4 separate regions of the Homo sapiens genome follow, and regions 2, 3 and 4 are each linked to region 1. The links are contacts of gene promoters, found by promoter capture Hi-C in blood cells and fetal thymus (Javierre and others, 2016). All regions are on one chromosome and are shown on one strand. The core of a region is centred on a gene start or on the middle of the fragment in contact, and the rest is flanking DNA. Distances in the headings are between cores, read along the strand shown. Region 1 holds the start of PARP8 (poly(ADP-ribose) polymerase family member 8). Region 2 overlaps PARP8 (poly(ADP-ribose) polymerase family member 8). Region 3 has its middle 78 kb from the start of EMB. Region 4 overlaps PARP8 (poly(ADP-ribose) polymerase family member 8).

Region 1 (6,555 bases), core at 3,518-6,017:
ATGGCCAGGCCCACTGGGCTCCACTTGCTCTCTCCTTGGCTTTGGTAACCACTGGCCCCAGGGACTCAGCCTGCTTTCCTATCCATCCCCTCAGTAGCTGTCACCATGCAGGTTACCCCTTCTGTTCCTTCTACCACTAACTCCATGTCTGACTGCAAGTGAAAGGAACAGAAGCCCAAACCTTTGGGTTTTAAGGAGTTTATTGCTAATCAGTAAAACAGAAAGAGACAGAAGATAAGTATGACAAAGTATAGGGAAGAAATGACTTTTGCCTAAACTTCCAAATTGTGTACAATTGAAGCCTCTGCTTTATAGTTCTTAGCACACCTCTCAAATAAGAAGGCAGTACTGGGAAGGCTCTGAACCTGTGGCAGAACCACTGATAGCTGTGGAGCTATTCCAAGGAGTCTGGGAATCAGGGGGATTATCAAGATCATTGCTAGAATAAATTAATCTTACCGTATATATAGCACAAGTTTTCAAGCATATGTAAATGCTACTTATAACCAAATAATTACACCTTGTTTTTCTTTAAACTGTAACTCTCAATTATGTCTCTACATAATTTTTTGATGGTAAAGTGTCTGCATGCTCAAAAAGCTTGAAAACACTAATGGAGAAGAAGGAGGTCTCAGGAGTGTGATGGAACAGGTTTACATGGCAGCTTCAACATTTAATTGATGAAAGTGACTATGTGTCTTAAACTCTCTGAGCCTCAGTTTGCACATCCAAAAGCAAGGATATAATTCCATGAACCTTTCCACCTCAAGTCCACAAGGCAGAATAGCAAGATGTTAACTGCCACTCTGAGGACCACCAAATAAAAGGACAATTTATTAGGCCACTTGCCAGCATGGACACAATCGCCTCTTGGCATTTCTTATTATCCACAGAAAAATTAAAAGTATAAATGTAGAACAAAATTATTATTTTTTTTTAATAGTAACATGTAAGATCAATCTTTGTCTTTAAAATACCATGTATCTCATTCTTGGAAAGCATCAAAAAGAAAACGGTATAGTAAGTTTTATCTACAACTTGAATTAAAATTATTCTTGAAATATGTTCTTAATGGTTAGATGAAATGGTAGTTAAATACAAATAGAGATAATCATATACTCTCTCTCCATAAGGCTCCCACCTCCTTCAATAAAGTCTAGTTCACCTAAAATGATACTATTAATTCAATATTACAAGTTGATAAGCACATTAAATCAAAACACAGCAAGATTATTTTAAGAGTCTGACTGAAATGTCAGGATAAGAAATAGATTAATAAATATTGGTTTATAATGTCGGTAATGAAAACAAATACGTTATTTTCAGAAAATAAAAGGTATTCGCCATTAGGTACAAATCATAAAGGGATTATCTACGGTTACTACACTGTAACAACTTTTTACATATTGTATTTTAGAACAAGCTTTTGAGAAGACAAAGCAACACATCAGCAGTTTAACCAATTGTCTTTCTCTTTTAACAGGCTGGTCTACATTAGATTAGATATAAAAGGCTCAGGTACACTTGTGCTCGATCTTAGCCAAATGGCTGAGAAACAGCCAGGTACATTTAAATCAGTGACAAAAGAAAACACTATCCTTTAATAAAATTACATAAAATAGGAAACATCTCTTACTTTAAGAGCAACCATGGTACTTCTTCCTATGGTGAAAACTGATGTTATCTCGCTTAATTATTCATCCCAACACCTGGCCTTGCTCCCTTTTCCACCTCTAGCTATGTTAACACTAGAGTCCAATAATTTGCTGATAAAGAATCTTAACTGCAGTATCTAACAGATCTTAGTGATTAAGCATATGATTTACCCTTTGATTGTACAGATAAGTAAACTGAGGCCAAAAGAACTGAGGTATCTTATTAAAAATCAGAAAGCTAGTTACTTGAAAAGCCCACCTGTCCTTCCTGTCCACATGTCTCACCAGAAAAACAGCAATAGTGAAAAGTCAACTCTGTTTTTAATGGGCCACTTTGTATATTTTAACTGTTAAAATAATCCAAGAGGATATTAGTCATATACGAAGATCCTTTAGATATAATGTGTAGGACCAGCGTTAATTTAATCAACCAAGTCTCCTCTCATTGAATTATTAATTCATAATTACAAAGATGACATTACAGTAAATTAAGAAATACTGTAATTTCATTCTCTCCCAAAAAGTATACACTTAAGTTTGGTGATTCACTGTTATATTTTCAACTAGTAAATCAATGTGCTAATTCTGGGGCTTAGGTATATTGCATATACTGGAATGATATTCACTTTAAATGTTTTGAGATGTATAATGTAATACAGATCCTACGTGTTTTTAAAAGTTCACATCAATTTCAAGCTTTTAAAAATGTATGTACACAAGAAAGCTTCTTTTGCAATTTATATGTTTATAAATGTTTCCATTAGCTAAGATATATTTTGGAATGTGATCAAACAATATTGAATGTCAAGTCCTAACAGCAGGGCTGGTCTAAGGAATTCCCTCTAAGCTAAATCTGGTACTTCTCATATGTGGCTACTGCTCTTTTAAACTACTGTGTCCCTAAAGGGCTAAAAGGAAGAAAATCCTAACTCAACAAGTGAAGGTAGCAAGGCATAGTATTTGAATGGCTACCTTTCATTTTAACTCTACTTCCTAAATTCAAAATTGGATTTGGGTTTGTTTCAAGTTGTTCACAATTTACTAACGAAATGTGCATCTCTCATTCTTCCCCCAAAAGAAAGAAGTCATCCACTCCAGCTACATATAAGTCTCCAATTTCTATACGTGAAAACCGAAATACCACTCATTGAAAAAAAAATGTACAGAGAATTGGCAGGCTGCATGTTTATGTAAACCTTCAGAAAACATGGAAACACGCAGCCCCAACTCACCAGGAAAATCAACACTTCTGATCAAACTATTTTGTGACATTTTATGTCTTTTATACATTTCACTTCATATCCAGTATTCCAGTTTTGCACCGGCGTGCCTGTATCAACCCCAAATCGCCTGAGAGCAATCTAGTACTGTAGCAGAACAGTTTCAACATGAAGAGTTCTGCTCATTGCCTGTGGCGTGGTCCTCGAAACACCTGAATCAAACATTGATTCCCCTCCTCCTGCTATTTAAAACCGAGGGACGTCAGGCTTGGGTAGCAGGTAAAGAAAAGCCACAATAATCAAACAAACAAGCAACCAAAATACCCGAACACGGAACACGCTAAGAACAAAGGAAACACAAGAGTGTGAACAGGAAATGAAGCAACTCTATACACATAAATACCTTCTGGGGCCGCCAACGTAGGTAAAAGTAAAGGTGGAGTCAGAGTATCTGAAATCTGAAACAGAAAGTCCCGTCAAAAGCTACCCCTGGAGTGGATTTGTTTTAACCCCGATCAGGACTTGAGCCCCACATTCGGTGGTGTCAGGGGAGGCCTGGCCGGGCAGAAGGCAAGGGCTAGAGGGCGGCGAGGTCCCTCTGCGCCGCGTCCGAGGGGATGCGGCGCGCCCCCGACTGGGTGCAGCGGGAGGCCGCCCCCCGCAACAAGTGCCGGGTGCCATGGCAACAGCGGGAATTTCCCGATAGGGGAGGCCGGAAGCAGCCTCAGCCGGGCTCGCGGTAGCGAAAGCAAAATCCCGGGGGAGCAAAATGGACGAAAGGCGACCCCCAGGCAGGGGCGCTGGGTGCCTTGGGAATCCGAGGAATCCCTTCTCTTTGCCAGTCGGAGGGGACTAGAGGGAGCCGAAGGGGCCGGAGATGGGCCGAGCGCTGCCCCCCGGGGGTCCTCGGCGCCGGGCGCAGCTTACAAGCGCAGCGCAGCGCAGCAGGCTCCATTCCCGGCCGCCGCCGCTCAGCCCATTGCGCAAACCAACCCCGCTCTGCCGCCGCTGCTGGAACCCAGGAAGCGTGCTTGGAGGCTTCGGGCACTACGCGGGGCTGGAAATACCACGCACTGCCCCTTCGCCTAGACCCCCGCTCCGGCCACGCGGGCTCTGCCCTCAAAGCTGGTGGCTGCCTCAGACTTGGCGGTGGGGGAGGGGAAGGGGAGAGGCTGGCGCCCCCTCCCCCTTTTGGCTCCCGCGCTCGTTGCAGCAGCTGTTGCCAAATGAACCCCAGAATGGGGACGTGCAACCCTCCACCCCACCCCCAGCCACAGACGTCGCGGTCAGAAAACTGGGAAGGGGGCGCTGGGTCCGAGGTTCTGGAAAAGCAAGAACTCACCTGCAAACAGGCAGTCCTTCTCAGCTCTGGACTTCTGGATCACGACGTCGATATCCTTCTGAATTCGCTCTTGCCTTGAACACATCCCCATTAAATAAATCCCTGGAAAAGAAGCAGCCGCTATTTCCACCCCACCCCACCCCCCTCGCACGCTTCCAGCTTTCGTAAATATTCAGTTAAAAATGAAACCTCTGGCCGAGGCAGGGGCTGAAGGCGAAGTGGTTTCGGAAGTGATCCTGGGTGAGAGAAGAGGAGGAGGAGGAGGGGGAGGAGGAGGAGGAGGGGGAGGTCGGCTTTGCATTCCCAGATGTGACCGCCCAGCTGCTGCTCGCCGCTGCTGGATTCCAATTTCCTCCCCTTCTGACAATGGATGGTGATGACACCAAGTCTCACTTTCTCCCTCACCCGCCCGGACCAACGGCCGTGGGGGCCGAGGTGCCGGGGACAGCCAGAGAGCAATCACCGGCTGGGCGGCGGGCGCCGGCGAGGGGCGAGCCCCGCTCCGGCTCACGCGCGCACACCCCTCACGGCTCGCACGCCGGCCTTCCACACCCGCGCACACTCGCGCCCGCGGGCGGCGGCAGCCGTGCCCAGGCTGCTGCAGCGCCGCCCGCCCGCCGCAGACCCTCCGCGCCCGCCGCCTAGTCACCCCGCCGGCCGCGGGCTGCCGGGGCTCGCAGAGTATTAGCCATCCCGGGCGGGAGCCGCTTCTCCCCACACCGACCTCCACTCGCGCCGGGAGCTGAGCGGTCGTGAAGACTCCCTGGGGCTCCCAGCCTTCCCTCTCCGCGCCCCTCCCCCCATCACTTTTATGAATTCGACTCCACTTTCTAAAGGAATTATAGTCTTGTGGCAAACCCAAACCGGAGTGGCTGGGAGGGGGAAAAGGGGGGAAAAGAAAATCTTTAAAAATTAAAAAAATAATAAAACGAACAAATCTTTCCTTATTGCCACATCACATAACACGGAAAAGGCCTTAAAATTACTCCAGACGTGCACCCTCCCCTTCCCTCAGTGCCTGAGTCTTTTTCCTCCAGATCGAAGTAGTTCAGCCCTTTTGGGGCGCCGTTTACGAAACACAGCCCCTTTTGAGGGACTTCCTCCTCTTGAAACTCACCAGTTCTCCCTTCCTAGGTGTTTCTGTTCATGAGAAATGGTCAGAATCAACTGGCACGTTCCAGGGTCTTCCTAAAAGATGGAAACCTGTTTGGCTTGATTTTTAAAACCACCTCCTTTGACAGTCAAGGGAAAGCTACAATCCAGGTGTTCAGAAATGAGATACTGCTCTGATTCTCACTTTCTGTTCTGCCTAAGGACACCCCAGGCTGACGTAGCTGCCCCACCTCTATATTGGTTTATGCCCTAGGAGAGGTCTCCAGCAGGCACTTTTCTTGTTGATCTTTTCTCCACTGAGAAGGCTCCCGCCAGTAGACCATGACTCCTTTTGCTTTGCATACTCAGTGCCATGTACAGTGCCTGGAATACAGGAGGGTGGCCTAAATGTTGGCTGAATGCACGAATGGTCATTTCTTGCAGCCTCTTTTCATTACCCTGTCTCATCACTTTTCTTATCAGCATAAGTGCCCAAGAGTTGCCAAACTGTTTCAGACCCTTAATCAATTTAGTTCTGATTCTGACCGTGACAACATGATGTTCAGCACGGTAGGAATGACTGCCATCCCTGAAGGAGTCTTAAGATTCTGTAGAATCAATGAAAGATCCTATGTTCTAACTCCTTTATCTTTCAGGAAACAAATTACAAAATAATTTCCTTGTCCAGTCATATTCACTATGAGTTACAAAAGGAAACATTCTGCATTATTGAGATCCACTGCAGCCTTTGATGTAGTAAAGCCACAGTCACAACAGTCTATATCTCCTGCTCAGTCCTCTCCTGAAATGCTTCCTGTTTAGGGTAGGACAGGTTCAAGCCCTTTGTCCTTCCTGGATATGTTGCTTTGTGTAGGCCCTTTGGCTGCCAAAAATGCTCTCTTCTCTTCCACATCACCACTGAGAATCATGAGTATTTCTTCTTCCATTATGTGCTTTAATTTCTCTGAAAGGCTGAAAGTCTATTAACTCACAAGAATTTATTTTATAGTTATCTAGCCACAAGGCTTGCATCTTCCAAGTAGAACCCTTACTACAAATAAATGTGAAATAGTTTTAAAGCTACCAAATATTTTTTTGTCTGGATGAGCTCTTAGTTTACTACTCACTCCTTAAAATAGGCCTTCTTGTGACTTGTCCTATATTTGATTTTTTTTTAAGCTTCATGGGCTGCCCTGTTTTGGTTAAACAAAGCTAACCTCACCCTGTTCATGCCCTTAAGGTGTGA
Region 2 (6,637 bases), core at 86-2,585, 130 kb before region 1:
CTTGAACCCGGGAGGCAGAGGTTGCAGTGAGCCGAGATCATGCCAGGGCAACAAAAGCAAAACTCCATCTCAAAAATATATATATATATAATTTGGATAGCCCTATAACTAATAAAGAAATTGAATTCATAAATTAAAAATTTTTCACCAGGTGTGATGGCTCACACCTGTAATCCTAACACTTTGAGAGGCTAAGGCAGGAGGATTCCTTGAGCCCAGGAGTTCAAGACCAGCCTTGGCAACATGGTGACACCCCATTTCTACAAAAAATTTTAAAAATTAGCTGGGCATGGTGGCATGTACCTGTAGTCCCAGCTACTCAGGAGGCTGAGGTGGGAGGATCACTTAAGCCCAGAAGGTTGAGGTTGCAGTGAGCCATGTTTGCACCACTGCACTCCAACATGAGTGACAGAGTAAGACCCCTGTTTCAAAAAAAAAAAAAAAAATCTAAAACAGAAATCTCCAGGCCCAGATAGTTGTTAGTGCATATCAAAAAATCAGTGTAATACATCATATTAATAGCATAAAAGAAAAACATAGTAATATCAAGAGACATAGAAAAACAAAAACCAACAAAAATGCTTTCATGATTATAAAACCACCTAACAACTAGGACTAGAAGGGGATTTTTCTCAACCTGGTAAGTGGCATCTATGAAAAATCCCCAACAAACAGTGAAAGGCTGAACATTTTCCCCCTAAATCACAAGATAAAAATTTCTTTTCTTGCCACTTCTAATCAGTCTTGTATTGAAGTTCTAGTCAAGCACATTAGATAAGGAAAAGTAATAAAAGGCATCCTGATTAACAAGGAAAAAGTGAAACTCTATTTGCAAGAGACATAATTTTATATAGAGAAACAAAGAATCCAAAAATAACTTAATAGAGCTAACAAATAAGTTCAGCAATGTTGCAGTATAAAAGATTAACATGCAAAAATAACTTCTATTTCTATATAATAGCAAAGAACGTTCTGAAAATGGAATAAAGCAACTTAATTTACAGTAACATCAAAAATAATAAAATGCTTAAAAACAAACTTATCCAAGGAAGTGTAAGACTTGAATGCTGAAAACTACAAAATAGCATTGAAATAAAATTTTAAAAGCCTAAATAAATAAAATGATCTGGTGTACATGAATTGGAAAGGTTAATATTGTTAAGATGATGTCTTGGTCTATTCCGGCTGCTGTAATCGAATACCATAGGCTGGGTGGCTTATAACAACAAATATTTATTTCTCACAGTTTTGAAGGCTGGGAAGATAAAGATGTCAGGAGATTCAGTGCCTGATGAGGGCCCATCTGCTGATTCATAGACCAGAGTGACAGTAAGGCCACAAATTGATCTTCTTGCTGTGTCCTTTCATGGTAGAGGAGTGAGAGAGCTCTTTGTGCTCTATTACAAAGGCACTATTCCTGTTCATGAGGGCACCACCCTCATGACCTAATCGCCTTCCAAACAACCCATCTCCTAACACCATCACATGGGAGTTAGGATTTCAATGTATGAATTCTGGGAGGAACACATCCAGTCTATAGCCAATGGCAACAGTCTTCAAACCGATTTACAATTCCAATGCAACCCTATCAAAATTCCAACTGCCTTTTTGCAGAAATGGACAAATGAACCACAGAACTGATAGAGAAACGCAAGAGACCCCAAACAGTCAATGCAATCTTATAAAACACAAACAAAGGATTTCTGCCTCTTGATTTCAAACTTACTATAAAGCAACATTAATCAAGACAATGTGGTACTGGCCTAAGGACAGACATGCAGATCAGTGGAAAAAGACTTGAGAGTCCAGAAATAAACCAAAACATCTATAGTCAAATAATTTTCAACGAGGGTGCCAAGATCATTCAGTAGAGAAAAAATAGTCTTTTCAAAGAATGGTGCTGAGACAACTGGGTATCTACATGCAAAAGAATGACTTTGGACCCCAACCTAACACCATATACAAAAATTAACTCAAAAAGTATTGTGACTTAAATGTAAGACATAAATCGTGAAATTCTTAGAGGGAAACATAAGTGCACTGTGTGACTTTGAATTAGGCAATTACTTTTTAGACGCAACATCAAAAACACAAGTAACAAAAGAAAAAATTGATAAATAAGACTTCATCAAAATTAAAAACTTGTGTGTGTCAAAGATTACCTTTAAAAAATGAAATGACAAACTACAAAATAGAAGAAAATAATTGCAAATCATATATGTGGTAAAGATAAAGTATTCAGAATACATAAAGAACTCTTACAACTCATGAATAAGAATACAAATAACCCAATTTAAAAATATGAAAAGGATTTAAATAGGCATTTCTCCAAAGACATGCAAATGGCCAATAAGCACATGAAAAGATGCTCAAAATTTTTTAGCAGAAAATCAAAATATTTTAGTATCTTTTAGTCAGTCATCAGGGAAGTGCATAAGAAAACCACAATAAGAAACTGCTTCGGCCGGGTGCGGTGGCTCAGGCCAGGCGCGGTGGTTCACGCCTGTAATTCCAACACTTTGGGAGGCCGAGGCTGGTGAATCACAAGGTCAGGAGATCGAGACCATCCTGGCCAACACAGTGAAACCCTGTCTCTACTAAAAAAATACAAAAAATCAGCCGGGCGTGGTGGCGGGTGCCTGTAGTCCCAGCTACTAGGGAGGCTGAGGCAGGAGAATGGCATGAACCCAGAAGGCGGAGCTTGCAGTGAGCCGAGATCGTGCCACTGCACTCCAGCCTGGGTGACAGAGCGAGACTCTGTCTCAAAAAAAAAAAAAACAAAAAAAATAGAAACCGCTTCACACATACTAGCATGGCTATAATTATTAAAAATAATAATAAATAGAGAATAATACGTGGGGAAGATGTATAGAGACTGTATCTGTCATACATTGCCAGTGGAAATGTAAAATTATGCAGCCACTGTTGAAACAGGTTTGGCTGTTCCTCAAAAAGTTAAACAGAGTTAACATATGTTCTAGCAATTCCATCGACTGATGACTGGATAAACAAATGTGGTATATGCATAAAATGTATATTATTCTGCCATAAAAAGAAATAAAAGTACTGACATATGCTATATGGATGGTCCTTGAAAACATTATAATAAGTGAAAGAAGTCAGAAACAAAAGCCCACATACTGTACAATTCCATTCATATCAAATATCCAGAATGACCAAATCCATAGAAACAGAAAACAGTTTCATAATTGCCAGGGGATGACAGGAGGCGGAAATTGGGAGTGACTGGTAACAGAATATTTCTTTTGGGGATAATGGAAATTCCATTTTCTGGAATTAAATAGCTGTAATGGTTATATAATATTGTGAATATATGAAAAACCACTGAATTGTATACTTTAAGTAGTGACTTATAAGTTATATTTTAGCAATAAAAATTCCAAAAAAAATCATTTTAAAATTGAATCGTTCTCTCCAAAATGCACGTATACACTGATTCTTATTTTCATACTCCTTTGATAATATCCCAAATGTGTCAGGATGCTAGCATCTTTGGAAATCTTTATTGGGATCCTCTCTCTACTACTGTGTACCTCTTTTAACTAGCATAGGATCAAGACTCTCCTCTCACATATTCAGCATCTTAAATTGTGGAGTTTTGAAGGGACACTGCCTAAGCATCCTTGTCACATAACCTTGTAAACACTGGTTCTTCAAAATTCCACAATTTAAGATGCTTAACGTTGATATAGGTGTAGATGGATAAATAGCTGTTAGATAAACATATGTAAAAAATATAATAAGAAACATTTTCCTAATATCAAACTAACTGCTCTTTCACAGGCTACTTTAGAAGTAATACTATTTTGTCAAAATTATATGTAAATAATTTGCTCAATAAAGAGTATTTGCTTTCAACTGCATTTATTTACTTATTTTTATATTTCAAATCTTTTCTATATTTCTATATTCTAAACCAACACGGACATTCTATCAGCAAGAACTTACCCTAAGCATAGGGCCATTTTGAAACACATGTGGCTCATCACAAACCACACAATATTCATTTAATACAGGGATCCGCTGTTCAGCAAACTCAATTGTCTGAATAAAACAGTAAGGAAAAATAATTAAGACAAGCTCATAAATGATTTAAAAACCCCGTAAGAACTAAAATATTTGTACAATGGATAGAGTTTTGGCTCATACCTGCACCAGGAAGCCACGGTCTCGTACTGGAATGCATTTTGCACCATTTGGCTATAAAAAGCAAAGTAAAAAAAAATGATAATTTTTTTAAATGTAAAAATGTATAAATTACAGGCTTTTACTCTTTGCAATAGTGAATACGAAAGTGATTTAAGATCACATGAAATATGAATTGAGTCACTGATGACATCAAAATTAAAAACTTTTTTATTCACTCTATTATAAATACCCTTTCTACCATTACTAATGCAATTTTTGCCTACAGTAAATGAACAGCACTCTTAGCTGCTGATCTTCTAGCAAAAATTACTGGCATCTTTACATGATCACAAAAACTCATTTGTCTGTTACTAATCAGCAAATGCTCATACCTCTTCATTAGGAGACTTCAGTCTTATTTTACAATCAGATACAATTATTCCTCCAAAGAAATATTAGACAGCTACTGAAAGTGTCATAACAGAAAACTATGAATTATGCTTAGCCATATCAGAGGTTATTAAGGCATTTTCTTTTACAGAATGTCTGAAATGATCTTTCTTGGATGAAGCTAACATGGGAAACATTCCACTGTGCAGTTGTTCTACATTATTTGCTCTATGTCCTTAAAACGTATGTTTGAGTAGGAATGGGCTTCTAGGATGCTCATGTGAAATTGTCAACATACTCAACTTTTCAGATAATAAATATACAGTATAGTTTATAATTTAATTTTAGAAATAAACCTATATAAGAATAACATTACTTTCCTGAAACATCTTATTTTTTTCAATTTCATCTCTTGCTGAGTGTTTACACATTAATGGTTAGAGCTAAACACACACCCCCAACATACACACATATATATTTAGCAAAAGGAAACAAAACTTTTCATCAACTATTTTGAATATGTTAATAATATACATAAGATAGGTCTATGAATTTATCACTAGCATGAACTTGGCTATCATGCCAATCATGCTAGCGATAAATTTTGTGTAAGAGTTACTCTTGATAAATAGCATCAAAAGGACTTAAATTATTGAAGTCATCTTCTGGTCCCATGTCCCCCAAAAACGGCTACAGCATAAAGTGACTTCAGTATAAAATGGACACTAAGAACAACTTTAAGTGAGGCTCTGGGATAAAGTGGTAAATGTTGCCTCTCTCCACAGGTAAAAACATGCATGGGCAGAGTGCTCTTATATATAATTGAAAGGGAATTATTCTCAATTTAACCACAAGAAAAATGTGGTCCTCCACCACTCATGTGAGAAGACCAGAGATTAGATACACCTACTTAATGAAACATTAAAATTATATGCTTATTTAATAAGTAAGGGCTTTGTGAATCCAATGCGTTTCCTTCTGATTTTAGTAGCATTTGTTACTATGACAAGAATTTGAACTGGACTTCAAATGAATAGCTACATTTATTTTTTTTCAGAACCAAAGCTTACATTTCATTGCCAGTTGCAAATGTATGGGATGCAAAACAATATCCAAAAAGATTTTAAAAAAACAGTAAATTAAAACAAAGTTTTGCTTCTTTTCTCCACCAGATCTTATAAGAAAAAAAAAATTCTACTGCACCTTAGCTAACATTTAAGAACTCAAGATGAAAATATTTACGCACAGCAAGCTGAGAAGATGAAGATGAAGATGGTGTTAGGATACCAATAAGCCCTGAGGTAAGAGAGAGCCTCCTGCCCTCTGCGTTAGGTTCCTTGAAAAGCTCAGTTTTGGATGACTTGGGGGCACTGGAGTAGGACTTGCTGAGCAATTTGTGATTTTTCAGTCCATATAATTCTTCCATTCTGAGATTACTAGAGTAAGACCTGCTTAACAGTTTATGGGGCTTCAAGTTTGTGTTGTGCTCACATCGTGGATCTCCAGAACAAGATCGAGTCAATAGTCTATGCGACTTTAGAGTTAGGCATTCCTCTGACTTAACAGCTGCAGGGCAAGGACGGTTCAAAAGTTTGTGCGATTTAATTGCTGTCATAGCCTGCTCCGCCCTGGGATCGCTGGACAAGGAGCGGCCAAAGGTCCTGTGTGACTTTGTGACACACACATCATCAGTCTTGACTGTGCTGGAACAAGTCCTCCGCAGCAGCTTATGCGTTTTGGAGATTCCGTCCTGCTCAGATTTCAGTTTGGATTTGCTTTTGCCACAACCAGGGGGAGGATAACTTGGCGACCTTCAAAATTGAACAACAATTACTACAGGGCAAATCACAGGTACATCAGACCATGAAGAAAGCTTGTCATGCTCAAACTCGACTGTGCTAATAAATATTCTACCACCTCATTTTAATATAGCCTACCCAGTCAAAACTGAAATCAAAGGTATGTGCAGAATGATCACAGGACTTGAATCCCATTTTTCCTGAAAAGCAAAAAAAAGGTTCTAAGATTTTTTTTCCCTCCTATCTATCCCAAAGCCCTATAATGAAACTAATTTTGGTAGGAAAAACTCTAGGTGATT
Region 3 (7,082 bases), core at 982-3,481, 150 kb after region 1:
CAATAAGGAAGGTTATTATTGTGAGAAAAGAGAGACATAGTCAAGATGGTGATATAGAAGGCTCCACCCTTCATCCCCCTACCCCTACAAGGACAGCAACTTAGCAACTATCTACACAGAAAAAAACACCTTCATAATAACCAAAAATAAAGTGAGCACTCACAGTACCTGGTTTTAACTTCATATTGCTGAAAAAGGCACTGAAAAGATAGCAAAAACAGCCTTGAATCACCAATGCCACCCCTCCTCCACCCCTATCCTTCACTGCCCCTTCACCCCAGCAGCCGTGTGTTGTCGAGAGCATCTCTGGGTGCTGTGGGAGGGAGAACACAGTAATTGTGAGGCATTGAACTCAGTTCTGTCCTATTAGAGTAAAAAGAAAAACCAGACCAAACTCACCTGACACCCACCCATGGAGGGAGCATTTAAACCAGCCCTAGCCAGAGGGGAATTCCTGAGCTTAGTGGTCCAAATTTGAGTTCCCTCAAACCTTGCCACTGAGGGTTACAACACTCCATGTCTCTAAGTAAACTTGAAAGGCAGTCTAGACCATAAGGACTGCAACTCTTAGGCAAGACCTAGTGCTGAACTAGGTCCAGAGACAGTGCACTTGGGGGGCACGTGACATACTGAGACATCAGCTGGGGCAGCCAAGGGAGTGCTGGCATCACCCCTCCCCTAACCCCAGGCTGCACAGCTCACGGCTTCAAAAGAGACCCTTCCTTCTGCTTGAGGAGAGGAGAGGGATAAATGGGGAGGACTTTGTTTTGCATCTTGGATACCAGCTCAGCCACAGCAGGATAAGGCACCAGTCAGAGTAGTGAGGCCTCCGTTCCAGGCCCTAGCTCCCATCTGACATTTTTAGACACACCCTAGGCCAGAAGGGAACTCATTGCTTTGAAAGGACCCAGCCCTGGAAATATTTATCACTTGCTAACAGAGGAGTCCTTGGGCCCTGAATAATCAGCAGCAATACCCAGGCACTACGTCAAGGGCCTTGGGTGAGCCTCTGAAATTTGCTGGCTTCAGGTAAGACTCAGTACATTACCAGCTGTGGTGCATATGAGGCAAAACTGCTGCTTGAGAAAAGCAGAGGGAAAAGTAAAGGGGACTTTGTCTTGCACCTTAGGTACCAGCACAGCCACAGAGGGGTAGAGCACCAAGTGGGGTCTTGAGATCCCCAATTCCAGTACTTGGCTCTTGGATGACATTCCTGGACACTGCCCTGATGGGTGAGTCCCAGGCCAGGCAGCATTTATCACAAGCTGACTTAAGAGCCCTTGAGCCTTCAGGGAACATTGGTAACATTAGTGGTAGTCTGGCAGAACTCCTCTTGGCCTGGGGGTGGTGGTCACTAGGGGGTGATGCTCCTCTGCCTTTGGAAAGGGGAGAGAAGAGTGGGAAGGACTGCATCTTGTGGGTTTAAATGCCAGCTCAGCCACAGTATAAAAGAATACCAGGTAGACTTCTAAGGTTTTTGAATCTAGTCCCTGACTCCCAGATGGCACCTCTGGACCCATCTGGGATCTGGGGGACCTTGCCACCCTGAAGGGAAGGACACGAGCCTGGCTGGCTCTGACACTGGCAGTTTGTAGAGCTCCAGGGCCTTGAACAAACATAGGCCGTTGCCAGAGAATGGCTACAGGAGGCTTTGGGTAGACAGTGCTGTGCTGGCTTCAGGTCTGACCCAGTGGAGTCGTAGTGGTTGTAGCCACAGGGGCGTCTTGCCAGCCCAGCTTTAGGTGGCTCAGAACAGAGAGAAAGACTCTGTTTGAGAGAAAGTAAGGACGGAAAACAAGAGACTTTTCCTAGTAATTCAGATAATTCTTCCAAATCTTGTCCAAGACTGTCAAGGCGGTACTTCTACCATTCTGCAAGAGCCACAGCATTAATGGGCTTGGGGTGCCCCCTTAAAGCTTAGGTCACAGCTTAGATCACAACACCCATGTTCTTTCAAATATCTGGAATGGCTTCCCAAGAAGGACAGCTACAAATAAGGCCAGGCAATGAAGACTACGATAAATACCTAACTCTTCAATGCTCAGACACCGAAGAGCAACTACTAGCATCAACACCATTCAGGAAAACATGACCTCACCAAATGAACTAAATAAGGCATGAGGGATCGATGCTGGAAAAATAGAGATATGCGACCTTTCAAGCAGAGAATTCAAAATAGCTGTGTTGAGGAAACTCAAAGAAATTCAAGTTAACACAGAGACAGAATTCACAATTCTATCAGATAAATTTAACTAAGAGATTGAAACAATTGAAAATAAGCAAGCAGAAATTCTGGAGGTGAAAAGTACAAGTGGTATATTGAAGAATGCATCAGAGTTCTTTAATAGCAGAACTGATCAAGCAGAAGAAAGAATCAGTGGGCTTGAAGAAAAGTTATTTGAAAATAGACAGAAGAGACAAAGATAAAAGCATAAGAAACTATGAAGCACACCTACGGGATCTAGAAAATATCCTCAAAAGGGCATATCTAAGAGTTACTGGCCTTAAAGAGGAGGTAGAGAAAGAGATAGGGGTAGAAAGCTTATTCAGAGGGATAATATCAGATAACTTTCCAAACCTAGAGAAAGATAACAATATCCAAGTACAAGAAGGTTATGGAACACCAAGCAGATTTAAGCCAAAGAAGATTGCTTCAAGGCATTTAATAATCATACTCCCAAAGATCAAGGATGAAGAAAGGATCCGAAAAGCAGTAACAGAAAATAAACAAATAACATACAATGGAGCTCCAGTATGTCTGGCAGCAGACTTTTCCAAGGAAACCTTTCAGTCTAGGAGAGAGTGGCATGACATATTGAAAGTGCTGAAGGAAAAAACTTTTGCCCTAGAATAGCTTATCTGGAGAAAATTTCCTACAAACATGAAGGAGAAATAAAGACTTTCCCAGACAAACAAAAGCTGAGGGATTTCTGGGGGATTTCATCAACACCAGACCTGTGCTGCAAGAAATGCTAAAGGGGACTACTTCAATCAGAAATAAAAGGACATTAATGACCAATAAGTAATCACTTGAATGTATAAAACTCACTGGTAATAGAAAGTACATAGAATATCATAACACTGTAACTGTGGTGTGTAAACTACTCTTATCCTAAGTAGAAAGACTAAATGATGAACCAATAAAAATAGTAACTACAACATCTTTTCAAGACATAAGCAGTACAGGCTGGGCGCGGTGGCTCAAGCCAGGAGCACTTTGGGAGGCTGAGGCGGGTGGATCACCTGAGGTCAGGAGTTCAAGACCAGCCTGACCAACATGGGGAAACCCTGTCTCTAGTAAAAATACAAAACTAGTGGTGGTGCATGCCTGTAATCCCAGCTACTCAGGAGGCTGAGGCAGGAGAATCACTTGAACCCAGGAGGTGGAGGTTGCAGTGAGCCGTGATGGCACCATTGCACTCCAGCCTGGGCAACAAAAGTAAAACTCCATCTCAAAAAAAAAAAAAAAAAAAAAAAAGACATAGGAAGTACTATATGATAAATAAAACAACAAAATAAAGTGGAGAGTTTTTGTTAGTTTTCTTTTTGCTTGTTTGTTTATCCAAGCAGTGTTAAATTGTTATCAGGTTAAAATAAGCGTTTATAAGATAGTATTTGCTAGCCTCATGGTAACCTCAAACAAAACAATATACAATGGATACCAGAAAAGGAAAAGCAATAAACTAAATCATATCACCAGAGAAAATCACCTTTACTAAAGGAAGAGAGAAAGGAAAGAAAGAAGGAAGAGAAGACCACACACACACAAAAAGACACAGAAAATAAATAACAAAATGGAAGGAGTAAGTCCTCACTTATCATTAATAAAATTGAATGTAAATGGACTAAATTATACAATCAATAGACAATAGCCAATGATCTGTTGTCTACAAGAAACACACTTTACCTTTAAAGATACACATAGACTCAAAATTAAAAAATGGTAAAAGATATTCCATGCCAACGAAAACCATAAAAGAACAGGAGTAGCTGTACTTATATCAACAACTATAGACAAAAACTATAAGAAGAGAAAAAGAAGGTCACTATATCATGAAAAAGGGGTCAATTCAACAAGATGATATAACAATTGTAAATATATATGCACCCAACACTGGAGCACCCAGATATATAAAGGAAATATTGTTAAACCTAAAGAGAGAGAGAGAGAGATAGGTCCCAGTATAATAAAAGCTGGAGACTTCAACACCCCACTTTCAGCATTGGACAGATCTCCCAGACAGATAATCAACAAAGAAATATCAGAGTTAATCTGTATTATAGACCAAATAGATCTAGTAGATAGTTACAGAACTTTTCATCCATGAGCTGCAGAATACACATTATTCTCCTCAGCACATGAATTATTTTCAAGGACAGACCATATGTTAAGTCACAAAACAAGCCTTAAAACATGCTAAAAATTGAAATAATATCAAGCATCTTCTCTGATCACAATGGAATAAAACTAGAAATTAATAACAAGAGGAATTTCTGAAACTATACAAACACAGAAATTTAACATATGCTCCTGAGTGACCAGTGGGGCAATGAAGAAATTAAGAAGGAAATTGAAAAATTTCTTGAAACAAATGATAATGGAAACACAACATACCAATATCTATGGGATATAGCAAAAGCAGTGCTAAGAGGGACGTTTATAGCTATAAATGCCTACATCAAAAAAGATGAAAAACTTCAAATAAACAATCTAATGCTGTATCTTAAAGAACTAGAAAAGCAAGTGAAAACCAAGTCCAAAACCAGTGAAGAAAAGAAATAATAAAGGTCTGAGCAGAAATAAATAAAGGTGAAAACAATACAAAAGATCAACGTAACAAAAAGTTGGTTTTTTATAAAGTTAAACAAAATTGCAAACCTTTAGCTAGACTAAGAAAAAAAGGGAGAGCATTCAAACAAATAAAACCAGAAATTGAAAAAAGAGACATTACAACTGAATCTGCAAAAATTCAAAGGATCATTAGTGGCTATTATGAACAATTATATGCCAATAAATTGGAAAATCTAGAAGAGATAGACAAATTCCTAGATACATACAACCTACCAAAATTGAACCAAGAAGAAATCTAAAACCTGAACAGACCAATAACAAATAGCAAGATCAAAGCTGTAATAAAATATCTCCCAGTAAAGAAAATCCCAGGACCCAATGACTTCACTGCTGAATTCTACCAAACATTTAAAGAAAAACTAACACCAATCCTCGTCAAACTTTTCTGAAAAGAAAGAGGAGGAAGGAATACTTCCAAACTTATTCTATGAGGTCATTTTTACCCTAATACCAAAATGAGACAAAGACACATCAAAAAAAGAAAAGTACAGGCTAATATCTCTGATGAATATTCATGTAAAAATCCTCAACAAAATGCTAACAAACCAAATTTAACAATACATTAAAAAGATCATTCATCATGATCAAGTGGGATTTATCCTTGAGATGCAAGGAAGATTCAAAATATGCAAGTCAATCAATGTGATACATCGTATCAACAGAATACAGAATAAAATCTATATGATCATTTCAATTGATGCTGAAAAAGTATCAGATAAAGTTCAACATTCCTTCATGATAAAAAAGAAACCATCAAAAAACTGGACATAAGAGGAACGTACACAACATAATAAAAACTGTATGTGACAGACCCACAGCTAGTATCATATTTAATATAGAAAAACTGAAAGGCTTTCCTATAAGATCTGGAACACATTAAGGATGCCCACTCTCACCACTCTTATTCAACATGGTACTGGAAGTCCTAGCTAGAGCAATCAGACAAGAGAAAGAAATAAAGGGCATCTAAATTGGAATGGAAGAAGTCAAATTATTCTTGTTTGCAGATGATGTGATCTTATAGCTGGAAAAACCTAAAAGACTCCACTAATAAACTCTTAAATCTTATGAATAAATTTAGTAAAGTTACAGGGTGCAAAGTCAACATACAATATTCAGTGGCATTTCTACATGCCATCCATGAACAATCTGAAAAAGAAATTAAAAAGTTGTCCCATTTATAATAGCCACACATAAAATTAAATACCAAGGAATTAACCAAAGAAATAAAAGAACTCTGCAATGAAAACTATAATACACTAATGAAAGAAATTAGAGGGGGCATCAAAAAATGGAAAGGTTTTTTATGTTCATGAGTTGGAAAAATTAATATTGCTAAAATGGCCATACTACCCAAAGCAATCTACAGATTCAATGCAATCCATGTCACAATACCAATGACATTCTTCACAGAAATAGAAAAAAACTACTCTAAAATTTATATGGAATCAAAAATGACCCAGAATAGCTAAAGCTATCCTAAGCAAAAAGAATAAAACTGGAGGAATTACATTACCTGACTTCAAATTATACTACAGAGCTATAGTAACCAAAACAGCAAGGTATTGGCATAAAAACAGATACATACACCAATGGAACAGAATAGAGAACCCAGAAACAAATCCACACACCTATAGTGAACTCATTTTTCACAAAGGTGCCAAGAATATAAATTGAGGAAAAGACAGTCTCTTCAATAAATGATACTGGGAACACTAGATATCAATATGCTGAAGAATGAAGCTAGATCTCTATCTCTTGCCACATACAAAAATCAAATAAAAATGGATTAAATACTTAAATCTAAGACCTAAAAGCTATGAAACTCCCATGAGAAAACTTTGGGGAAACTCTCTAGGACGTTGGTTTGGGCAAAATTTCTTGAGTAATACCCCAAAGCACAGGCAATCAAAGTCAAAATGGACAAATGAGATCACATCAAGTTAAAAAGCTTCTGCACAGCAAAGGATACAATCAGCGAAGTGAAGAGCAACCCACAGAATGGGAAAAAATATTTGCAAACTGTCCATCTGATAAGAGATTAATAACCAGAATATGTAAGGATCTCTAACAACTCTATAAGAAAAGACTTAATAATCTGCTTAAAAAATAAGCAACAGATGGCTGGGCGTGGTGGCTCACGCCTGTAATCCCAGCACTTTGGGAGGCCTAGGTGGGCGGATCACCTGATGTTGGGAGTTTGAGACCAGCCTGACCAACATAGAGAAAC
Region 4 (6,495 bases), core at 3,155-5,654, 150 kb before region 1:
TTTTGTTTGTTTGGTTTTTTTCCTTAAATCAAGCAGTAGAAAAGGATGCTGTTTTCATTAAGAGGAAAACTAGAATTTTATACCATTGCAGTAAGGGATGAGCAAGGGGGTCCTGTTTATCCATTTGCTTCTTGATTTCCAGATATGGTGCCTGAAAAAAAGTCATTATACTTCTTGATTTTTCATAAAAATTCATTTTTCCGTTTTCACAAAAGGAAAATCAGACCAAACGATATGCCTAATCTAGTAAGACTTAAAAATTTATGGACTTAACATGGGAACAACAACAATTGCCCTAGTCTTTTCTCCCAAGATGATGGGAATTGTGAACTTTCATGCCACCAAAATGACTTGCCCAAACACTGTGTTAAAAGACTTGTCCCGATTTTAGCCTGGCTTCCATTTACACTAGCCTATGTCCCTAAAGATGACCACTCTCCAGCCCCCTGTTGAGTTTCTGCTCAAGAAAACGTGATGCTCCCAAACCACAAAATGTATATTGTACCAACCCACTTTGCCAAACCATTTTTGGTAATTCTCCACTTATCCCCTTCTGTAACTTTCCATTTTTACATAACTCCTCTAGTCCCATCTTCTTTTCCTTGCCTTTTCACTTACTTGTAGCGCCTTTTGCTTCCTCTCCTCTGCCTTTAAAAACCTGGATCACCTTTGTCTTAGTTGAAGTTGAGCTCAGTTTATGCTGCAGTCTCTCTCCCCCACTGCAGTGCTCTGAATAAATCTGTCTTGCCACCTTTACAAGTGTCCTGTAAAGTTTCTCTTTCACAATGACCATTTTAACCAATAACCAATATGAAAGCAAAGCTTGTGAGGGCCACTACTAATGCTCATATCTGAGAGTCCAGACTTAGGTATAGACCTTTACATTAAAAAATTGGACACAATTTACCTAAGACGAAGCCTTCTCTAAAAAGTATTTAAAGGGATTTAACCAACAACCATTTCACAGAACAAAGAGCAATCTCTCCGTGACAATTTAGGGCTACGTATAGGACAGTACATTCTAGAAAACAGCACAGTATAATGTTGTATTTATTCAGAAAGTTTTAAAGAATTTGACACAATAAAACCTGAGAGCTTCCCTATGAAGTACACACCGAAACAGGGTGCAGCATTACTACTTCCACCTTGACAGCGAAGCGCCAAGCAATTAAGCAACTTGCCCAAGGTCACAGGTCACATTCATTGATGAGCCAGTTATACAATTTTGGCTTCTTAACTTCCTAGGCTGACGCTCAGTCGTCTACGTTCCCTTCTATTAAAATAGCTTACACATGACCCAGAATAAAGAAAGCAATTTTTGGCAGAGAGCTGATTCCAGAGTCAGAGTTTGTAGCTATTTTTAAATCCAAAAATAATCAAGGTCTAGGGTATAGTATACCTTATACCAAAGTCTTTTTCATGACTAAAAATGTTTATATGATTTTGTATAAGATATTCCAATATGTTCTTTTTTTCTCCTAGGTGGAAATACATTTTATTGTTTTCTTTCCCTATACAAATAAGGAGTGCTTGTCTGAGAAAGAATTCAGATAATACAGAAAGGTACTGGCATAGAAAAATAACCCAAAGGGATGGTGATTTTTTAAGCAAATAATAACATTTGTGAATTAAAGGATCTCTTGTTTACTCTTTGCCAGACACACACTATTTATTGAGTGAATGAACGAATATTTGACTACATGAATAAATGATGATCGAAAGAATCAAGAATCAAAATGGAAATGCAAAAATGTACTTTTTGAGTACTGTCTTCCTACAGAGCAGTAGCGATAACTCTGGGGGTTGGTGGGGGGCGGGGAGAAAGCTGCATAGCAGCTTAGTGGGCCCTGGGACAGGAGGGTTCCCCTATTCCCTCCCCAGAGAAAATAAAGGACCCAGGGTAATACTCATTATAAGCCTGCAAGGGTCTCTAAGGCAGTGCAATCCTTGAAACCACTACATGCAAGCTGCACACATAATGTGCGTTGTCAATCTCAGATTATTAATTTCTACTTACAATGATAAGTTTTAAACCTCTCTCCAAGTCTTTGGCAGTGGAAAGGTCTCAATAATTCAACAGTGTGTGCTTTTCCAAATGCTGGACTATAGCCCAGGGATGTGTTAGATTTTCCTAACAAACCCCGATCCTTGCTCATCAAACTATTTCCACCAAAGCCTCCCTTAATGACCAAAAACATAAACCCATACTCTCCGGGAGCCTGGCATCTTCCAAAGTGGTTTTGGGATTTTGCATTATATAAAATATTTATGGAAAAGTTCCATTTTAAAGAACATTTCTGTTTTTAATACTCAAATAATGTTTTGAAATTGCTACCATCAATTAAAATTGACAGTCTAGGAAAATGGTACCAGATTTAACCTTTGCCTTAAAATATCCCGACATACCTACATGTACCCAAGCTCTTGCCCGAGTTTGAGGGCAGAGTATTAGGAGTATAATTATCTTATAATTATCCACTTACTTTCCTGAAGTCACAGTGTTACATGCTAGTACACTGATGTGATTTAATTAAAACATCTTAATACCGCACAAATTTTTAAATGATATGTATTATAGAGAAGTCTACATTTCACTACATAGCTAGAACTCTCAGACATTTTAAAAATATACTGTACAAGACCAGATGACATACTTACTTGTGTCATTTCTCTGATAGAAGTTATGCTATCCAGTGCTTTCATTACTCGATCATAGTTCTTTTTCTGTTTAATGAAAAAGTGATGTTAAAAAACAGCATTTGCTTATAAGCTCTTGCAAGTCTGTATATCACTAGAGAAATATATTATTTCCATATGTGAATTTTCCACTGGGGTCAATTTGAAAGAAATGACTGTTTGGTGTACATAAAAGGGAAGACTATAATAAGATGGCTCCAGGACTTCAGTCAGAGAAAAGAAACAAAGAAAACAATGCCAATCCTTCTATAAGCCATGGCGGAAAAAATCTAGAAACACAAAAAAGTTATGGGGCTCCTGATTCAGGCTTTCACCACTAAAACACTAAGCCATAATGAATAAAGTCAACATAGAATCCTAAAATACAAAAACCCACTTCAAATCTCACAACCGCTTTTATTTTATTTTGAGTTGAATATTGTTAACAAGAGTATGGTTGACAGTATACAAATGATAGCATACAGTCACATAGCTGACAATTCATTTTCAAGCAAGATCTAAATATGTGCGCTGTTGCCATTTATGAAGAAATAAAGTTCTTCCAAGAAAATTGTATACAGTTGTTTCTATAAAATTATTTCAAGCTGAGTAGTAATAGAAACTGAGGCAACTTCAGCTCTTATGCAATTTGAAAGTTTTGTAATTTCAAAAGGATTCTGCCTTATCTTCAGGAACATTTATAAAACTGCTTCCTTAAGAAAGGCCAGTCCATTAACAGTATGAACTAAACTTTCACTAACCTTCAGATAGCTGGGGAGGAAGAAGGGAAAGAGGAAAGGAGGGTTGAAGTGAAAATGCAGAAAAGAAAGGAAAACTTGTCCCTTTACCCATGATCTTTAAAATCAAAATGAGGTTATGTAAGTCGGAATCCCCAAAAATATATGATGAAATTAAATACTCATGGATATGCTTGATGAGATAGAGATTTAGATAGAAAGAGGAAACCTAATGAGACTACAATCTCAATATTGTTGTTATTGTTAAAGAAAACTTTGTGATTGGTGTGCCATGATAACAACTTACCCTGGGGTTGAAGGCCAACATCTGAGGATCATTAGGATCTACCACAGAAGGATATGGCTCGAAAATCACAACTTTTCTAGGAGATTCCAACGCAGACCTACACATGGATACTAGTAGATCTACCACCTTGAAATATACACATAAGATAGTTACTACCCTTCAGGTTTTATCCAGTGCTTTGCCATTGTTTCTCCCTCTCAAGGTAGCATAAGTTAATGAGGAAGATCAGGACTGCTACCAATCTCTCAAATGTGTAATGCAAGACTTGAGACCACATTTGACCAAACTTTACCATCAATTCAAAATAACAAACATGTGCTGCTTCTCATTACTCACAACTTAATATCTCTTTTTCAAAGGCACACATTATATGCCAGTATTGTTCTAGACCCTATGGTAAGACAAGGCACAAGACAGACAAGTCCCTGCTCTGGTGCAGCTGATAGTCTAGGGGAGAAGATACACAATAAAATATCAGTTAAACAAATAGATGCTTCAATAGAATTTCTGATACTGTTAAATGTTATAAAAAAATAAAGTAGGCACTAGAGAATAATGCAGAAAGGGACATTGTTTTAGAGTGGCTAAGAAAGGTGGTGAATCTCAACAGAGACCTGTACGGGGTCAGGAAGGAGACATGCGACCATCTGGCGAGAAGCTGTTCCAGGGGAAGGAAGCCCCATGTGCAGGAAAAGACTTTGGCATGCTCCAGGAATAGCTAATTGCCTGACAACATCTTGCCTCTTCCTATTCTCCTCTATCCAAGTCCACTAATGACCTTTGATTGGCTAAAGACAATGGCTTTATTCCTGTGTTATCCTGTTATCCTATGATTCTTCTGCACAATCTACTAAGAGGCAGTACTATATAGCAGTTTGATAGCATGGCTCCCCTTGCCAGTCCCCAAAACAATATATTCTGGCCACTGAATAAAGAAAACTGATACTGCCTAAATGGTCAGAGTTCACCTGAACAGACATATCTACAGTGTGAACACAAGTGACTTAATAAGGAAGCATATATATCTTTATAGGGAAAGCTATTTCTAGAAAGTCTTTAGACAGGCATTTAAAAAATGCACAGTAAGAGGGGGCCAATTTTTGATTGTCCTGCTTCTAAGAGAGGAGTATTGTGACCTAATGACAGCAGAGCTGACTATGTTGTGTGGGTACTCACAAAACACACCCACCCAATCATAGCATCCAGAATTTCCAGTGACCTAAAATAATCAGCAACGCTCAAGACACCAGACATAACATGCCCCGAGTACATAGACATGCATATCCACAAGACACACTCTGAAAACATTAGAATGGAAACATCTAATGTTCCTGACACACTATTTCATTTGTGTGTGTGTATGTAAATACATGCATACATATATATAGATATATGCAAGAAGTTATATTCCAAGCAATAAACATAATAAGGACATAATAAAACCCTCCTTTTTGTCTTCCTCTCCCACCCTCACATTCCTTCTACTCTAGAGATGCACATTAACCCTGATACAGATTGTTTTCAGCATTATCTGGTCTCTAATGAAAACCCAAACAAGAACTGACAAAGAAGAATCAGTAAGATAAAATAGCCTTGTTGGGCGCAGTGGCTCACGCCTGTAATCCTAGCACTTTGTTTGGGAGGCCAAGGAGGGAGGATTGCCTGAGGTCAGGAGTTCGAGACCAGCCTGGCCAATGTGGTGAAACCCCGTCTCTACTAAAAATACAAAAATTAGCTGGACATGGTGGCAGGTGCCTGCAGCGCCAGCTACTCGGGTGGCTGAGGCAGGAGTACTGCTTGAACCCGGGAGCTGGAGGTTGCAGTGAGCCAAGATTGCGCCACTGCACTCCAGCCTGGGTGACAAGAGCAAAACTCCGTCTCAAAAAAAAAAAAAAAAAAAAAAAAAAAAAAGAAGATAAAATAGCCTTTTCTGAGACCTTGTAGGGAGGAGGGGAATGACACAGATGGATATGCTCTCACTAAAACCCTTTAAAAATTATGTCCTACTATGCAATTGAAGTTTTATAAAAGTCCATGCATTTTTGACCAATATTTTTACTAGTATATTTAAGTAAATTATAATGTAATAATGGGTAGTAAATTTAATTGGTAGAATATTTCTGTTAATATATGTCCTAGCCTAACTTCAAAAAAAAGTGTAACTACTGTGACTCAATTACATGGGATGCACCAAAGTTTCCAACTCCTTGCTCACTTCCAGGACACAGCGCTAATACCTGGAAGCAGCTGCTCAGCAAAGCACATTTCCACCTTTTTGTCTGAATAAGGTCTTAACCACTGGCTTTCACCAGATCATCAGTGGAAAGGGGCTGACCTGATGCAAAGAAAGGTATGTCTTCCTCAGTTTCTCTACTACATGGCATATAGTAAAGACAGCAGGGCCACATGATCGAAGGGGTCCAGTCCCCCCGGTCACCACACAGAAAGTGGCCCATCAAACATTCTAATTGGAGTGTGTGAATGACAAAATGCTACCATGTTAAGCTGCCCGTGATTTTATGGTTTATCTGTTACAGAAGCTAGCATTAGACTTTTTAAGAAGAAAAACATTTATAATACAATTTGGATTTATATTCCTTTGCATATGTTAATTTTTCTAAGTATCTCATGGACTAAAACATCCACTTTAAAAAATAAAAGGCTGGGTGTGGTGGCTCAGGCCTGTAATCCCAGCATTTTGGGAGGCGGGGGTGGGAGGATCACTTGAGCCCAGGAGTTCAAGACCAGCCCGGACAACACAGTGAGACCTTGTCT

The links. The method cuts DNA at HindIII sites, captures the fragments that hold promoters and counts their contacts. A CHiCAGO score of 5 or more calls a contact.
Region 2: a contact is called between a fragment that was not itself captured here and the fragment with the promoter of PARP8 in region 1, in 1 of 17 cell types (neutrophils). The highest score is 9.0, in neutrophils.
Region 3: a contact is called between a fragment that was not itself captured here and the fragment with the promoter of PARP8 in region 1, in 7 of 17 cell types (non-activated CD4 T cells, neutrophils, total CD4 T cells and 4 more). The highest score is 10.2, in non-activated CD4 T cells.
Region 4: a fragment that was not itself captured here is called in contact with the fragment with the promoter of PARP8 in region 1 in 5 of 17 cell types (neutrophils, M2 macrophages, M0 macrophages and 2 more); the score reaches 10.5 in neutrophils.

Annotation. Positions count from the first base shown.
Region 1 is chr5:50,664,849-50,671,403 of GRCh38, reverse strand. It overlaps PARP8 (poly(ADP-ribose) polymerase family member 8), which reads right to left and starts at 4,767. Exons shown (of 26, transcript NM_024615.4): 1 at 4,218-4,767; 2 at 3,279-3,333. The coding sequence starts at 4,308. RefSeq lists silencers at 3,643-3,972, 4,665-4,724, 4,775-4,924 and enhancers at 2,945-4,144, 3,580-4,492. The HindIII fragment of the contact is 4,109 bases long and covers 2,382-6,490 here.
Region 2 is chr5:50,794,566-50,801,202 of GRCh38, reverse strand. It overlaps PARP8 (poly(ADP-ribose) polymerase family member 8), which reads right to left. Exons shown (of 26, transcript NM_024615.4): 12 at 5,786-6,350; 13 at 4,171-4,221; 14 at 3,970-4,065. Among named protein-coding and RNA genes, the nearest start is that of PARP8, 130 kb to the right of the region's middle. The HindIII fragment of the contact is 8,543 bases long and covers 1-5,606 here.
Region 3 is chr5:50,515,443-50,522,524 of GRCh38, reverse strand. No RefSeq gene overlaps it. Among named protein-coding and RNA genes, the nearest start is that of EMB, 78 kb to the right of the region's middle. The HindIII fragment of the contact is 625 bases long and covers 1,919-2,543 here.
Region 4 is chr5:50,818,564-50,825,058 of GRCh38, reverse strand. It overlaps PARP8 (poly(ADP-ribose) polymerase family member 8), which reads right to left. Exons shown (of 26, transcript NM_024615.4): 16 at 3,721-3,846; 17 at 2,659-2,724; 18 at 84-151. Among named protein-coding and RNA genes, the nearest start is that of LINC02106, 150 kb to the left of the region's middle. The HindIII fragment of the contact is 7,160 bases long and covers 825-6,495 here.